Regions from separate parts of the Homo sapiens genome. Here region 2 is linked to region 1. The links are contacts of gene promoters, found by promoter capture Hi-C in blood cells and fetal thymus (Javierre and others, 2016). All regions are on one chromosome and are shown on one strand. Each heading gives the region's core, a stretch centred on a gene start or on the middle of the fragment in contact. The rest is flanking DNA. Distances are from core to core; before and after follow the strand shown.

Region 1 (7,941 bases), core at 3,150-5,649:
CAATTCTCATGCCTCGGCCTCCCAAGTAGCTGGGACTACAGGCACGCGCCACCACACTGAGCTAATTTTTGTTATTTTTAGTAGAGATGGGGGTTTTACCATGTTGACCAGGCTAGTCTCTAACTCTTGACCTCAAGTGATCTACCCACTTCAGCCTCCCAAAGTGCTGGGACTACAGGCATGAGCCACCACGCCCGGCCAACATTTCCCATTTTCATCTTCTTACTTTTACTAACTTCTTGGCTCTAGTAAAGTCAGTTACTGTAAAATGCATCTTGGATCTTAGAAAAAGGGCCATTTCTACATCATTATGACAAAACAATTTGCTGATAAAGTATTACAATACAAAAAACCTAAATCATCTAAGATCATTTTTCCAAGAGCCCCAAAAGCAGATATACATACTATACATTCAAAACTCATGTCAAATTTCCCTCTTAATCTTACCAAAAAGCACACTTATGAAGTGGATGCAGACTCTCTGATCCTGAGACACCAGTTGCGTGACCAGGGAGGTATGCCTCACAAGGGCATCTTGGAAGCAGGACAACATGTGCTTCTTGCGCACTAACTTGAAGCAAATGAAGAAAAACATTCAATAGCAACCAAATTTTGGCTATTCTGAATCCAACAACCGTAATTTCCAAATACAATTACAAGATGATACAAGGGATCATTTAAACTACGGTGAGATCCATACTCCTTCAAGGGAGGTTGGAAAAGGATATCATTTACGCAGAGGAATCCATGTATTCATACAGAAGATTATACATGAGCTAAGGTTCCTAATGCCCTATATTTACATAGCAATTTATTTTTCACAAATCATTTTTGTCCACCAGCTCATTTAAGCCTAACAAGTTGGTGAGGAAAGCAAAAACAGAGGCCGGGCCCGGTGATTCACACCTGTAATTCCAGCACTTTGGGAGGCCAAGGCGGGCGTATCACGAGCTCAAGAGTTCCAGACCAGCATGGCCAACATGGTGCAACTCTATCTCAACTAAAAATAAAAAAATTACTCGGGCATGGTGGCAGGTGCCTGTAAACCCAGGGAGGCGGAGGTTGCAGTGAGCCGAGATAGCGCCACTGCATTCCAGCCTGGGGGACAAGAGCAAGATTTTGTCTCAAAAAAAAAAGAAAAGAAAAGTGTGTTCAGAGGCCGGGCATGGTGGCTCACGCCTGTAATCCCAACATTTTGGGAGGCCGAAGCAGGCAGATCACCTGAGGTTGGGAGTTCGAGACTGGCCTGACCAACATGGAGAAACCCGGTTTCTACTAAGAATACAAAATTAGCTAGGCGTGGTGGCGCATGCCTATATCCCCAGCTAATTGGGAGGCTGAGGCAGGAGAATCACTTGAATCTGGGAGGGGAGGTTGCGGTGAGCCAAGATCGCGCCATTGCACTACAGCCTGGACAAGAGGAAAACTGTCTCAAAAAAAAAAAAAGAAAAAAAGTGTGTTCAAGCCGGGTGCAGTGGCTCACACCTGTAATCCCAACTTTGGGAGGCCAATGTGGGTGGCTCACCTGAGGTCAGGCATTCGAGACCAGCCTGGCCAACATGGTGAAACCTCTTCTCTACTAAAAATACAAAAATTAGCCGTGCATGGTGGCAGGCGCCTGTAATCCCAGCTACTCAGAAGGCTGAGGCAGAAGAATCGCTTGAACCTGGGAGGCAGAGGTTGCAGTGAGCCAAGATTGCGCCATTGCACTCCAGCCTGGGCAACGAGAGCGAAACCATCTCAAAAGAAAAGTGTGCTCAATAAAAGGTAGAAGTTGCATCTCTTATTGCTTCTCATCTGTGCTACTGTAAGGCTCCTGTTTTTCCTTCACCAATTCATCCTACGTAATAGATTAAGGTAGTGATCTATATGAGCTACTCAAAAAATCCTAGTAACTCTCCTTCATCTGACAGATTATGTTCAAGCTCCTTAGCTGGGTTTCAAACTCTTCAAGTAACTGTCCTCAACCTGTCTCTCCAATCTCATCTCTTTCACTTTCCCTTCAAACACTCTGATTATCCCCAAAACCCATCCTTATAATACCTACCTCCTGGGATAATCAGCCTCCCACTTCCTCTGGTCCAAATCTCACCCATCTTCTTAAACCTAATTTGAATGCTTCCTCCTCTAAGAAACCTTTCCTAATTCCTCTCCTTACCCTGAACAGCACTTGACTACAAACATGTTCATTCTTCTAAGTTCTAACATGTTCTCTTATTTCTCCCCGCTGCACTGTCTTATTCATCTCTGATTTACTGTCCAAGAAAAGCAGCCTCAGAATTTCCATCCTTAATGAAAATTCAGAGGTTATTAGCTAGTTTACGAGTTCCCAGAGCACAGTGTGGGAATTCCTAAGGGTGCCTAAAACACTTCCCAGAGGTCCACAAGAACAAAAATATTTTCATATAATATTAAAATGTTCTTAGTCTTCCTCATTTTTTTTTAAATTTTTTCCATGTTGGCCAGGCTGGTCTTGAACTTCTGGCCTCGTGATCCAACCACCTCGGCCTCCCAAAGTGCTGGGATTACAGGTGTGAGCCACCGGACCCGGCCCAGTCTTTCTCATTCTTATTCTCCCACAAGTGTACAGTGGAGTTTTTGAGACTATATGACATGATAGCACAACAGACTGAATGCAGAAATAGATAAAAATCCAGCTGTTTGGCCGGGTGTGGTGGCTCACGTCTTTAATCCCAACACTTTGGGAGGCTGAGGCAGGCAGATCACCTGAGGTTGGGAGTTCAACACCAACCTGACCAACATGGAGAAACCCCGTCTATACTAAAAATACAAAATTAGCTGGGCGTAGTGACGCATGCATGTAATCCCAGCTACTCGGAAGGCTGAGGCAGGAGAATCGCTTGAACCCGGGAGGCGGAGGTTGCGGTGAGCTGAGATTGCGCCATTGCACTCCAGCCTGGGCAACAAGAGTGAAACTCCATCTCAAAAAAAAAAAAAAAAAGAAAGAAAGAAATCAAAATATTTGAGAACGCAGCCAGGCACGGTGGCTCACAGATGCAATCCCAACACTTTGGACTTTGGGAGGTCAAGGCAGGAGAATTGCTTGAGACTAGGAGTTCAAGACCAGCCTGGGCAACACAGGGAGACCCCCGGGACCGTTTCTACAAAAAAAAAAAAAAAAAAAAAAAAAATTGAGAACTGCTGATCTAGCCAATCCACCCACTCACGAATTCCCCTCCCATGAATTGGAGAGAAACTTGACCTCCCAAAGTCTTCTTGGATGCCTCCATGGACAAGAAAACTCACTGCAGGTCGGGCACCGTGGCTCACGCCTATAATCCCAGCACTATGGGAAGCCGAGGCGGGTGGATCACCTGAGGTCAAGAGTTCGAGACCAGCCTGGCCAACATGATGAAACTCCGTCTCTACTAAAAATAGAGAAATTAGCCGAGCGTGGTGGCGGGAGCCTGTAATCCCAGCTACTGGGTAGGTTGAGGCAGGAGAATCGCTTGAACCCAGGAAACAGAGGTTGCAGTGAGCGGAGATGGCGCCATTGCACTCCGGCCTGGGTGTCAGAGCGAGACTCCGTCTCGAAACAAACAAAACCACTTCATTGCAAACGCGGTAGGCAATGAGGACCCAGGCAGCCCGCTTTGGCCAGCTCTGCCCAAGGAACAGTCTTCCCGTTCACCCCCACTTCTGCCCGGCTGTAACCTGTCACTCCTGTCCCCTCGGAGCCCAGACTGCCCCTCCTCCGATTCACACCCCGACAGCTGAAGGGAATGAGGAGCGGCCGCCGCATGCGCCCCTGGCCCGCAGGTGAGTGGAGGCTGAAATGGCGGGAGGCTGAAATGGCGGGAGCCTGAGCTAAGGCCGAATCCCCGGGAAATGGAGGCAGGGGCAGCAAAGGGAAGGAGCCAGAAGGCGGAAGGCGGGAAGGTGTGTCCCTGAGACTGGGTGAGGTCCCGGGGGATCCGGATTTCCGTCCTTTCAGGCGCAGAGCCAGTGGACCGGGCTCCACGGAGGCCCGCAGGCCGGCCTGGGGCTGAGGGGCCCGAGAGGCCGCTGCGGCCGGGTCCGGGACGGGCTGACAGGGAGGAGAGTGAACACAGCGCGGGGGCCCGGTTTCGCGTCGGGTTCACCGGAGCGGGTCTGGCAAGGGCCTGGCCGCGTTTGCTGAGGGAAATGGCCAAACCCAGGTCTTCTGAAGAAAAGGTTCCGCCCGCACCGACACGCCGGGGTCCGGCAGCAGCTCCAGCGCGCAGGCCAGGCACAGGCGGGGGGTCACGGGCAGCAGCCAGCGCGGGTCGTGCCGGTAATGGGCCCTCTCGAATAGAAGCGCCGCCTCTTCCTCTCTCCTGGGCCCGGGAGTGCCCGCCGTCGCCGCCTGCCTCACAGCCATCTCCTCGCTTGCCCTCAGCTGAGGCGGCACTCTTTCCCGCGCAGACTGCACGCATGCGCACTTGGAGGACGGACCTGCGTCGGTGTGGAATGCGCCTGCGCGGACCCAGGGCGCTGCAGTCTCAGACGAGCAGCAGCCACTGAGGGCAAGTGGTGGACGCAAGTGCTCTGGATCGTGTCTAGCTAAGCCAAAAGCGGTTTGTGCTTAGAACCCTGCAGGAATGTCTTTACCACATCCAAAGTTGAAAAGCAATTATAAAGTAGGGGGCATTTGCCTTGAAAAAGGAAGGAAAGGAAGCTATTTCTACTGTTTTTTAAAAATGAAGGCCGGGCATGGTGGCTCACGCCTGTAATCCCAGCACTTTGGGAAGCCGAGGTGGGCGGATCACGAGATCTGGAGATCAAGACCATCTTACCCAACATGGTGAAACCCCGTCTCTACTAAAATACAAAAAATTAGCTGGGTGTGGTGGCAAGTGCCTGTAATCCCAGCTACTTGGGAGGCTTGAGGCAGGGGAATCACTTGAACCTGGGAGGCGGAGGTTGCAGTGAGCTGAGATTGTGCCACTGCACTCCAGCCTGGCGACAGAGCAAGACTCTATCTCAAAAAAAAAAAAAAAAAGGAAAATAAGCGATCCCAAGGATTCGCATCTAAAAGCAATTAGAGGCTGGGTGAGTTGGCTCATGCCTGTAATCACAGCACTTTGGGAGGGAGGCTGAGGCAGGAGAATCACTTGAACCTGGGAGGTGGAGGTTGCAGTGAGCCAAGATCGCACCACTGCACTCCAGCCTGGGTGACAGAGGAAGACTCCATCTTAAAAATAAATAAATAAATCAGAAGCTTAAGACCAAAAAATAAAAGTAAAAAAACAAAACAAAACACCAAAGACAGAGAGAAAGAAGTTCAAGACCAGCCTGAGCAACAGGGCGAAACCCCTCCTCTACTAAAAATACAAAAATTAGCTGGGTGTGGTGGCTCATGACTGTAATCCCAGCTACTCGGGAGGCTGAGGCAGCAGAATCGCTTGAACCCAGGAGGCGGAGGTTACAGTGAGCGGAGATCAAGCCACTGAACTCCAGCTTGGGCCACAGACCTACACTCCATCTCAAAAAAAAAAAAAAAAGCGTCCCATGCAGAGGACCACCCCTCCCCATAAGCAGCTGAGGCTTTTGGAGTGTCCTGCCTCAATCAGGATTAGCTTGGAGACAGAGCAGGATAGAACCTCAGTGGACTCCACTGTGAGGAGCTGGGGGGCAGGTGTTTCGGAGAGGACACTGGGTTGACCCACATTCCCTAAACCACAACCACAGAGTGGAAGGGGCTTCTACCCCACCCACAAAGTATCCCAAACCCCGAAAGGGGGCACTTGGAAAATGTGCCAGAGAAATCAGAACACCACAGGGCCCAAATGACCAATTTATTAGAGGCTTTGCAGGGATCAGGACACTCTCAAAGCTTTTCTGATATGTCCTGAGGACTCTGGGCCTGAGTCTACTTTTTAAAGCCATTCTGGAAGAGAAAAAAATTCAGATGCTTCATAATACTAAACTTTTTGGAGGCTCGTGTATTCTGTGGAGCCCCATTTGGGTTCCCAGGTGCCTCCTGGCCCTGGGGACTCTCTGTCTTAGGAAGGGTGGCCCCAGTACAGCAGTGACCTTGCAGCTGAAGATCCCTCTGTGAAGCAGTGTGATCTCCGATGCTGTCCTCCCCTGCACGAGGATCACCCACTTTGGGAGGCAGAGTAGAATCAGGTTCCCTCAGGCTCAGGTTAGGGGCCAAGTGCTTGCGCTTGGCGAGCTGTGGGGACCAGGACATCTTGGCCAGAAGGGTCAGGCCCAGCTTTGCCACCGCAGAGTGGAGCCTCCCTTTGAAGCTGACAGGTTCTGCAGAATGGCAGGAAGGCTGCTGCCCAGCCCCTCTGCACCCTGTAGATTCCAGGCTTCCTCTTCTCCAGTATGTGAGCTGCTGGCATTTGAGTCTGGGGAGCTTAGAGGCCTCCCAGGATGTACATTCCTTCCTCCAGTGGGCGTGGTCTGCCCTAGAGAATGAAGTCCTCACTCTGCTGGGAGCCCTCTCTGCCAGCTGGGAGACCCTTGACCTGATCATTTTCCTGCCCCTACTGTTCTCACTGGGAGGCTCTCCGACCCTTTGTGGGCCACACCAGCTCCTGGACTCCGCTGCCGGCCTGGGGGTCCTGGGAGCTGGGAGCTTGGTCCTAGCAAGCGCTTCCTGGATCTCCTGTGGTTCTCTGGCGCCCCCTGGTGGCCTGACTCTCCTGGCCTTTTCAGGCTGGATGGAAATGCTTAATGGGCTCTGACATGTGCGGTCTGTTCCTCTCCAGAGCTCTGGCTTGTATAGGAAGTTTCGAGCTTTTTCTGTCTGGGCGCTGAACCCTCTGGAACCTCTCTGGGGACTTAAGGCCTGGTGGGGAGCCTTGGGCCTCACAATACCTTTCCTGCTGGGCTTGGAGCTCCTGGCCTGTGTTCAGTCCAGAGAGCCTCGCCCCAGCAAGGGTCAATGAGCAAGATCCTAAGAAGTTAAACAGGAAATAGGACTCCAGGATCCGCCGGGGAAGACCCCACTTCAGGTGTGCAATCCTCCTCCGCATGAGGGACTCCAGGAGCAGTCGTTTGCTCTTCTTGAGGCCTGTCCCCTTGGGCAGGACAGTGAGGGCGGTGGGAGGACCCGCTAGAATGATGGCAGCTTCCGGGGCTGGGCCACACGGGAGACAGGAGCAGGCAGAGGGCATGCCCAAGGGAGCTGTCAGAGACGGAGGGTTTTGGGACTGCCGAGTCAGGCTGGGGGCCTTCTCTGGATCCACCCCTTTGTCCCTTTGTCGTCTTCTCCAGGATTCAGGTTGGGCCTGCTGGGAGGCTGGACTGATCCCCACTCTATGATCCCTGGCAGGGGTTGTGCCCTGGCTGGCCAGATGCTCTCCCTCCCCACCCACCAGCAGGAAGACTTCACCCCAGTGGGGGACAGGATTCATCTCAGGACAGGGGGCAGAGATGAAACCATTCACAGCCACTGCCTGTTCCTGTTCCCGGGTCCCACATCCATAGCCAGTGAAGGCTGGAGGCCATGGTAGGCTGTGCTTCCTGCCTGTGGGCCTCTCACTCCCAGAACAGTCGACTTGGAGACTGTCCCTCACAGCATCCTCTCCTCTGACCAGATCCTTGTTTCCTCCCCTTGGTGCTCGAGGCTCTCCAACATCCTCATCTGTGCACTTTCTCTGGCTTCCTATATCCTGGAGTTCTGCAACATCCTCAACTCCACCGTCATTCTTATTTCCTTGCCCTTGTACCTGGATCTCTTCAGCAATTTCAACTCTTAACTGTCCCTGGTCATCTCCTGCAGGAGCCTGGGTCTCTGTACCATCATCAGCTGTGGTCCCTCTCAGGTTTCTCTTCCCCTGTATTTGAATTTCTTCATCATTCCCACCTCCACCCTGTTCCTGGTTCTTCCACTCTGATAAACGGGTCTTTCCATTATCTTTACTTTTTAACAGTCTGTTTCTTCGCTCTAAGCCTCCAGTTTTTTCCCCTAAGCCTCCAGATCATTCTACCGTCCTCGTTTCC
Region 2 (6,988 bases), core at 4,434-6,933, 770 kb before region 1:
CCAGGAAGTTGAGGCTGCAATGAACCGTGAACATGCTACCGCACTCCAGTCTGGGCCTCAAAAAAATATATTTAAAAATTAAAAAAGCAGCCAGATGAAGAGCCATACAGGCGAGGGTCTGGAAGGGCCCCGAGCGCAAGAACTCCTGTCCCCGTGGAGTTGGGTGGGCCACCCCCAGCATGTGGATGTGTTCCTGTTCACTTTCCCGGAAGCCCCCGTGTGTCTGGCTGCCTGTAAGCTCTCCGAATCCAGTCCTGTTGGGGTTTTATGGAAGCCTCATTATGCAGGCGTGATTGATTAAATCAGTGGCAATTGATAATCAACTCAAACTTCAGCCCCTCTCCTTTCGGGGAGATTGAAGGATGGGGCTCAAAGTCCTAATTCTCTAATCTTGTCTCGGTCTTCCCGGTAACCAGGCCTCCTCCAGAAACCACTGGGGGCTGCCAGTCACCAGCCAAACATTAGCATACAAAAAGACACTGTCCTTTTGGAGGGTCCAAGGATTTTAGAAGTCATGTATCAGGAAATCAGGTAGAAGACTAAATACATATGTCACTGTGTCTGTATTAGCCTGTTTTCACGCTGCTGATAAAGACAAAGCCAAGACTGGAAAAGAAGTTTAATAGACTCACGGTTCCACGTGGCTGGGGAGGCCTCACAATCGTGGCAGAAGGCGAAAGGTGGCGGCAAGAGAGAAATGAGCCAAGCAAAAGGGGTTTCCTGTTATAAAACCATCAGATGTCGTGAGATTATTCACTACCATGAGAACTGCCCCCATGATCCAATTATCTCCCACAACACGTGGGAATGATGGGAGCTACAATTCAAGATGAGATTTGGGTGAGGACGCACCCAAACCATATCAATATCACTACTCCCCTTTCACTCACCCCACTTCCTGTTTGATGGCAACCTCGATTTCCTTTTTTAACTTTTATTTTTTACTTTTTGGGATGGAGTCTCACTCTGTCACCCAGGCTGGAGTGCAATGATGTGATCTCGGCTCACTGCAACCTCTGCCACCCTGGTTCACATGATTCTCCTGCCTCAGCCTCCTGAGTAGCTGGGACTACAGGTGTGTGCCTCCACACCTGGTTAATTTTTTGTATTTTTAGTAGAGATGGGGTTTCACCATGTTGGCCAGGCTGGTCTCGAACTCCTGATCTCAGGTGATCCACCCACTTTGACCTCCAAAAGTACTGGGATTACAGGCCTGAGCCACTGTGCCTGGCTGTCAACCTCGATTTCTTGAGTCTACCAAGCAAGGTCCTTGGGGGTCCTAGGAGCCCTCAGAGGCTTCTCTGCCTCTGCCTTCTTGCCCTTAGGTTTGGTTCCTCCCACACCAGCTAGGGCAATCCTTTAAAAACCCTCAGACCGCTGGGAGGAGGGTACTGAATGCTCCCAGCACAGTGACATGATAGACATGATCAAGAAGATGGATATGCAAAATATCTTGATCTGATCACTACATACTGTATGTATCAACACATCACTGTGTGCTCCATAAATATGTACAATTATTCTATGCCAATTAAAAAATGAGATAAAATAATATTCTGATTTTTTTTTGAGACGGAGTCTTGCTCTGTCACCCAGGCTGGAGTGCAGTGGCACGATCTCAGCTCACTGCATTCTCCGCCTCCTTGGTTCAAGCGATTCTCCTGCCTCAGTCTCCCGAGTAGCTGGGACTACAGGTGCGCACCACCATGCCTGGCTAATTTTTGTATTTTTAGTAGAGACAGGGTTTCAGCATGTTGGCCAGGATGGTCTCGATTTCTTGACCTCATGATCCACCCTCCTCAGCCTCCCAAAGTGCTGGGAATACAGGCATGAGCCACCGCACCCGGCCCTGATTTTTTTTAAGTAAGCCCAATTATATTATTCTGTTTAAAACTCCCTCATGGAGCTCCCCTAGAGTAAAAGCCAATGTTCTTGCCATGGCCTGTAAGGTCAAACAAAACCTGCCCCCTTCCTTCTCTCGGGCCTTATCCTTATCCCCCCATTTACTGTGATCCAGCCACTTGTCCTTGCTGCTTGGGGATCCTGCTGTTTAGAGGTGACCTGTGTCCAGGCTGGTGTCTGTTGGTAATGCACAGTTTTTTGTTTTTTGTTTTGTTTTTGTTTTTTGTTGAGACAGAGTCTCACTCTGTCACCCAGGCTGGAGTGCTGTGGTGTGATCTTAGCTCACTGTAACCTCTGCCTCCAGGATTCAAGCAGTTCTCCTGCCTCAGCCTCCAAGTAGCTGAGATTATAGGCGCCCGCCACCACACCCAGCTAATTTTTGTATTTTTAGTAGAGACGAGGTTTCACCATGTTGGCCAGGCTGGTCTCGAACTCCTGACCTCAAGTGATCTGCCCTCCTCGGCCTCCCAAAGTTCTGGGATTACAGGTGAGAGCCACCACGCTTGGCCCAGCATAGTTCTTAATAGTGCCACTTTCACTCCTGAATGGCCCTGGTTTGGATGCATCAACCTAAAGAAACTGAGGTCAAATTAACATAGGTAGAGAGTTTATTTTGGGCCAAAGCTGAGGACTACGGCCTCAGACACACTGGGAAGTGCCCTGGAGAACAAAGGAGAGACTGGAGTTTTTAAAGAAAAAAGGATCGGGCTGGACGTGGTGCCTCACGCCTGTAATCCTAGCATTTTGGGAGGCCGAGGTGGGTGGATCACTTGAGATCAGGAGTTCAAGACCAGCCTGGCCAAACATGGTGAAACCCTGTCTCTACTAAAAATACAAAAATTAGCTGGGCATGGTGGCACGTGCCTGTAATCCCATCTACTCAGGAGGCTGAGGCAGGAGAATTGCTTCAACCTGGGAAGCGGAGGTTGTAGTTAGCCAAGATTACGCCATTGCACTCCAGCCTGGGGGACAAGAGTGAAACTCTGTCTTGAAAAAAAAAAAAGAAGGAAAGGAAAAAGGATGAATCAGGCTGAGCACAGTGGCTCACACCTATAATCCCAGAAGTTTTGGGAGGCTGAGGTGGGAGGATTGCTAGAACTCAGGAGCTGGAGACCAGCCTGGGCAACATAGTGAGATCCCTATCTCTATTTAAAAAAAATCAGCCGGGCATGGTGGTGTGTGCCTGTAGTCCCAGCTACTTGGGAGGCTGAGGCAGGAAGATCGCTTGAGCCTGGGAGATGGGGGCTGCAGTGAGCCACAATCACATCACTGCACTTTAGCCTGGGCCATAGAGCAGGAACCTGTCTCAAGGAAAAAAAAAAAAGTATGAAACAGGAGAGAAGCGATTACAGAAGTTATGTTACAGGAATTCTCATTGGTTTATTGAAATCACATTGATTAGAGTATGAGTTATGGTATCCAGCGAATGGCATGGTTAGGTTAATTTATGGCTGTTGGTGTTGATAGTCAGTCTAGGGTCCCAATAGCAGGTGGCTTTAGGGGCGGGTGGGGGAGGGGGCTTGTAACTGCCATCACATTTCAATGCCTCTCTGGGCCTGATGATTTAAAGGGGGCTCTCGGCAGGGCACAGTGGCTCACGCTTGTAATCCCAGTACTTTGGGAGGCCGAGGTAGCAGGGGATCACCTGAGGTCAGGAGTTTGAGACCAGCCTGGCCAACATGGCGAAACCCCATCTCTACCAAAAAATACAAAAATTAGCCAGGCCTGGTGGCGGGCACCTGTAACCCTAGCTACTCAGGAGGCTGAGGCAGGAGAATTGCTTGAACCTGGGAGGCAGAGGTTGCAGTGAGCTGAGATTGCACTACTGCACTCCAGTCTGGGCGACAGAGTGAGACTCCTTCACAAAAAAACTAAAATATAATAAAACAAAGTCAGCTAATTAGCAAACTTCATTTCATCTTCAACCTTCATTCCCTCTTGCCACGTAACATAACATATTCACAGGTACCAGGGATTAGGACATGGACATCTTGGGGGAGGCATCATCCTGCTACCACAGTGAGGATGCTACTTTGAACAGGGTGGTCAGGGAGGGCTTCTGTGAGTAGCTGGCATTGAAAGGAAGATCTGAAGCATAAGAAGGAGCTGACAACATCAAGTGGCAGCTTCTCAGGCAGAGGGAGTGCCACGTGCAAAGGCCCCGGGGCAGAGAAGAGATGGGTGTGTTTAGGAGCAGGTGGGATCTAGAGTGGCTACAGCACACTAAGGGGAAGAGTGACCCCAGGTGAGGCTCAGAGGGAGGCTGGGATCAGATAGTGCAGGTGCACTGGTTTTCTCTCCCAGCCTAGGTCATCATAATTAGTGTGATTTCCATGCCATTGTCAAACACAAGCTTGATTCTGTGTGTGAGATGGCTGTGTTTTAACAATGTGTGATTCTTGTAGATTTGTTCACGAAGTTGTTTGAGATCTGGCTGTAAGACACAGGCAATTGTTACCCATTCATAAGGTCACTTTTTCTTTTTTTTTTTGAGACAGAGTCTCACTCTATTGGAGTGACTGGTGCGATCTCGGCTCACTGCAACCTCCACTTCCTGGGTTCAAGTGATTCTCCTGCGTCAGCCTCCAGAGTAGCTGGGATTACAGTTGTGCACCACCACACCTGGCTAATTTTTGTATTATTAGTAGAGATGGGGTTTCACCGTGTTGGTCATACTGGTCTCGAACTCCTGACCTCAGGTGATCCACCTGCCTCGGCCTCCCACAGTGCTGGAATTACAGATGTGAACCACCACGCCCAGCCCCAGTCACCTTTTAAATTTACTGAATAGACTGATTCATCCTTCTAAGAGAAGGGATAGCCAGGTGCAGTGGCTCACACCTGTAATCCCAGCACTTTGGGAGTCTGAAGTGGGTGGATCTCTTGAGCCCAGGAGTTTGAGACCAGCCTGGGCAACATGGTGAAATCCTGTCTCTACAAAAAATTAGCTGGACGTGGCTGGGCGCGGTGGCTCACGCCTGTAATCCCAGCACTTTGGGAGGCTGAGGAGGGCAGATCACGAGGTTAGGAGATCAAGACCATCCTGGCTAACACGGTGAAACCCCATCTCCACTAAAAAAAAAAAAAATACAAAAAATTAGCTGGGCATGGTGGCAGGCACCTGTAGTCCCAGCTACTCGGGAGGCTGAGGCAGGAGAATGGCGTGAACCCAGGAGGCAGAGCTTGCAGTGAGCCGAGATATAGCCACTGCACTCCAGCCTGGGTGATAGAGCAAGACTCCGGCTCAAAAAAAAAAAAAAAATTAGCTGGACGTGGTGGTGCATGCCTGTAGTCCCAGCTTCTCGGGAGGCTGAGGCAGGAGGATTCACACCCAGGAGGCGGAGGTTGCAGTGAGCTGAGATCGTGTCACTACACTCCAGTCTGGGTGACAGCACGCAACTCTGTCTCAAAAATAAATAAATAAATAAATAAATAAATAAATAAATAAATAATAAATAAATAAATAAAAATGGTAACCCTAGTTTGCATAATGGTTTTGAGCTATGAACCTAGACTTAAAGGGAATACATTGAATAAATCGAATGACCATGGAGAATTAGATGAGACCTGTTGTAACCAAGTGACTTGTTTTCTTATTTTGTGTATTTGGGTCTCAACTTCCCCAAAGAAATTTATCCAGGTGTGGCATGTAGTATTAGCAATAGCACAGACATTTCCTTATCCAACCAATAAATAATATAGAGCAAATTCATCATCTAGTATCCCACAACTGGGATGCATTAAAGCCGAGTGAACAACAGTTCTATTAGGGATGTTGCCAAAGTTACCCACTAGGTGGCCTAAAGGATCTCTTAGGTCAGGTTCTGTCAAGTTACCAGCAGAAGCTACTGATTGGGAAGTTTCAGTTGCATCATTATCCTGCCAAGTGGAAAAAATTGGCATAAGCAGGGAAGAATTAAGAGGGACAAGAGGCTCATGATGGGGACTCTTGTTCTGTTGTCTTGGGAAAAGCCACCCACAGCATGAAGCCATCAACTGCTTGTCCTGGTTTACAGTTAGACTGTCTCTGCTCATGGCATGAGGCAGTCCAGTGAACTTTCTATATGGTCCATAGATCACACACAAGACTCATCCCTTAAAATTCATTTAGTTTCAGCTTATAGTGCCTTAGGAACAGAGCAATTCCCATTCTTAGTATTCTATGGAAGAAAGTTGGATTGGAGGAACCAAAAATAATTTAGGGTCAGGTGGGTACGGTGGCTCACGCCTGTAATCCCAGCATCCCGTGCACGCCTCAACCAGGGTAAAAATCTTTATGCTGTATGCAGGCAGATGTGCACAGAAATAGAACTAAAAATGGTCTATAACTGATTCCCTTGAGCTCGCAAGTCCCCACTCTTGCTCACGGCAAAAGAGAGAAAGGAAATAACACCAGGAACATGCTCATCAGAGCTAACTCAGCCTCTTCAGTCTTCCAAAACTCCCTTCCTCATTAACGCGTCAAGATTAAAGTTCAAGTTCAGGTTCAAGTTCCGATCAAGTGTCTCTCCCTGCTCCTTTCTGAGATGCTGCTAGGGTGCGGGGTAACTAGGGCACCCTCCTGGCTCCTGCCTCTCAGCCATGGCCAGGGCGGTTCCTGGACCTTCCGTCCTGGTGTCCACGAGGCGATACCATCATGCATTATTCTCAACCTCCAGCCCAGGGCTCCCAGCCTGGCCTCTGTACCCCAATCTCAGTCTTTTGATTCATCAGGGCCTGGGCTGCTTTTCCCACTCCACACTAGAGAGTGTAGGCTGGGTGTAGCCTCACACTAGATCTGTGAGGCTGCCTTCCAGGCCACTGTCCTAGACCCTTTCCTGGCCATTTCCAAAGCATGCCTGAGCAGCCCCTGTCGTTCTGCTGCCATGCTCACCGCAGGCCTTGCTACCACTGTGTTAACCCCGAGGAGGGAATCAGGACGCTGACATCTGATCTCCTGTGTCTTCCTACTGATGGGAACTTCCCTAAGTCACACCTTCAGACCCTGTGCACTGCTTATAATCCAAGTCCAGGATTCTGTTATTTACGTCTTAAAGCAGAGCCTTTGGAATTTAGAAAATCTCTTTTTTCTCTGAAAGCTCAGTTT

The links. The method cuts DNA at HindIII sites, captures the fragments that hold promoters and counts their contacts. A CHiCAGO score of 5 or more calls a contact.
Region 2: a fragment that was not itself captured here is called in contact with the fragment with the promoter of MEI1 in region 1 in 1 of 17 cell types (total B cells); the score reaches 5.1 in total B cells.

Annotation. Positions count from the first base shown.
Region 1 is chr22:41,695,961-41,703,901 of GRCh38, reverse strand. MEI1 (meiotic double-stranded break formation protein 1) reads right to left here and starts at 4,399. Exons shown (of 31, transcript NM_152513.4): 1 at 4,190-4,399; 2 at 448-571. The coding sequence starts at 4,363. It also overlaps the pseudogene C22orf46P. RefSeq lists a silencer at 4,327-4,426 and enhancers at 6,640-7,019, 7,030-7,109. The HindIII fragment of the contact is 5,602 bases long and covers 1-5,205 here.
Region 2 is chr22:42,472,419-42,479,406 of GRCh38, reverse strand. No RefSeq gene overlaps it. Among named protein-coding and RNA genes, the nearest start is that of NFAM1, 44 kb to the right of the region's middle. The HindIII fragment of the contact is 2,851 bases long and covers 4,258-6,988 here.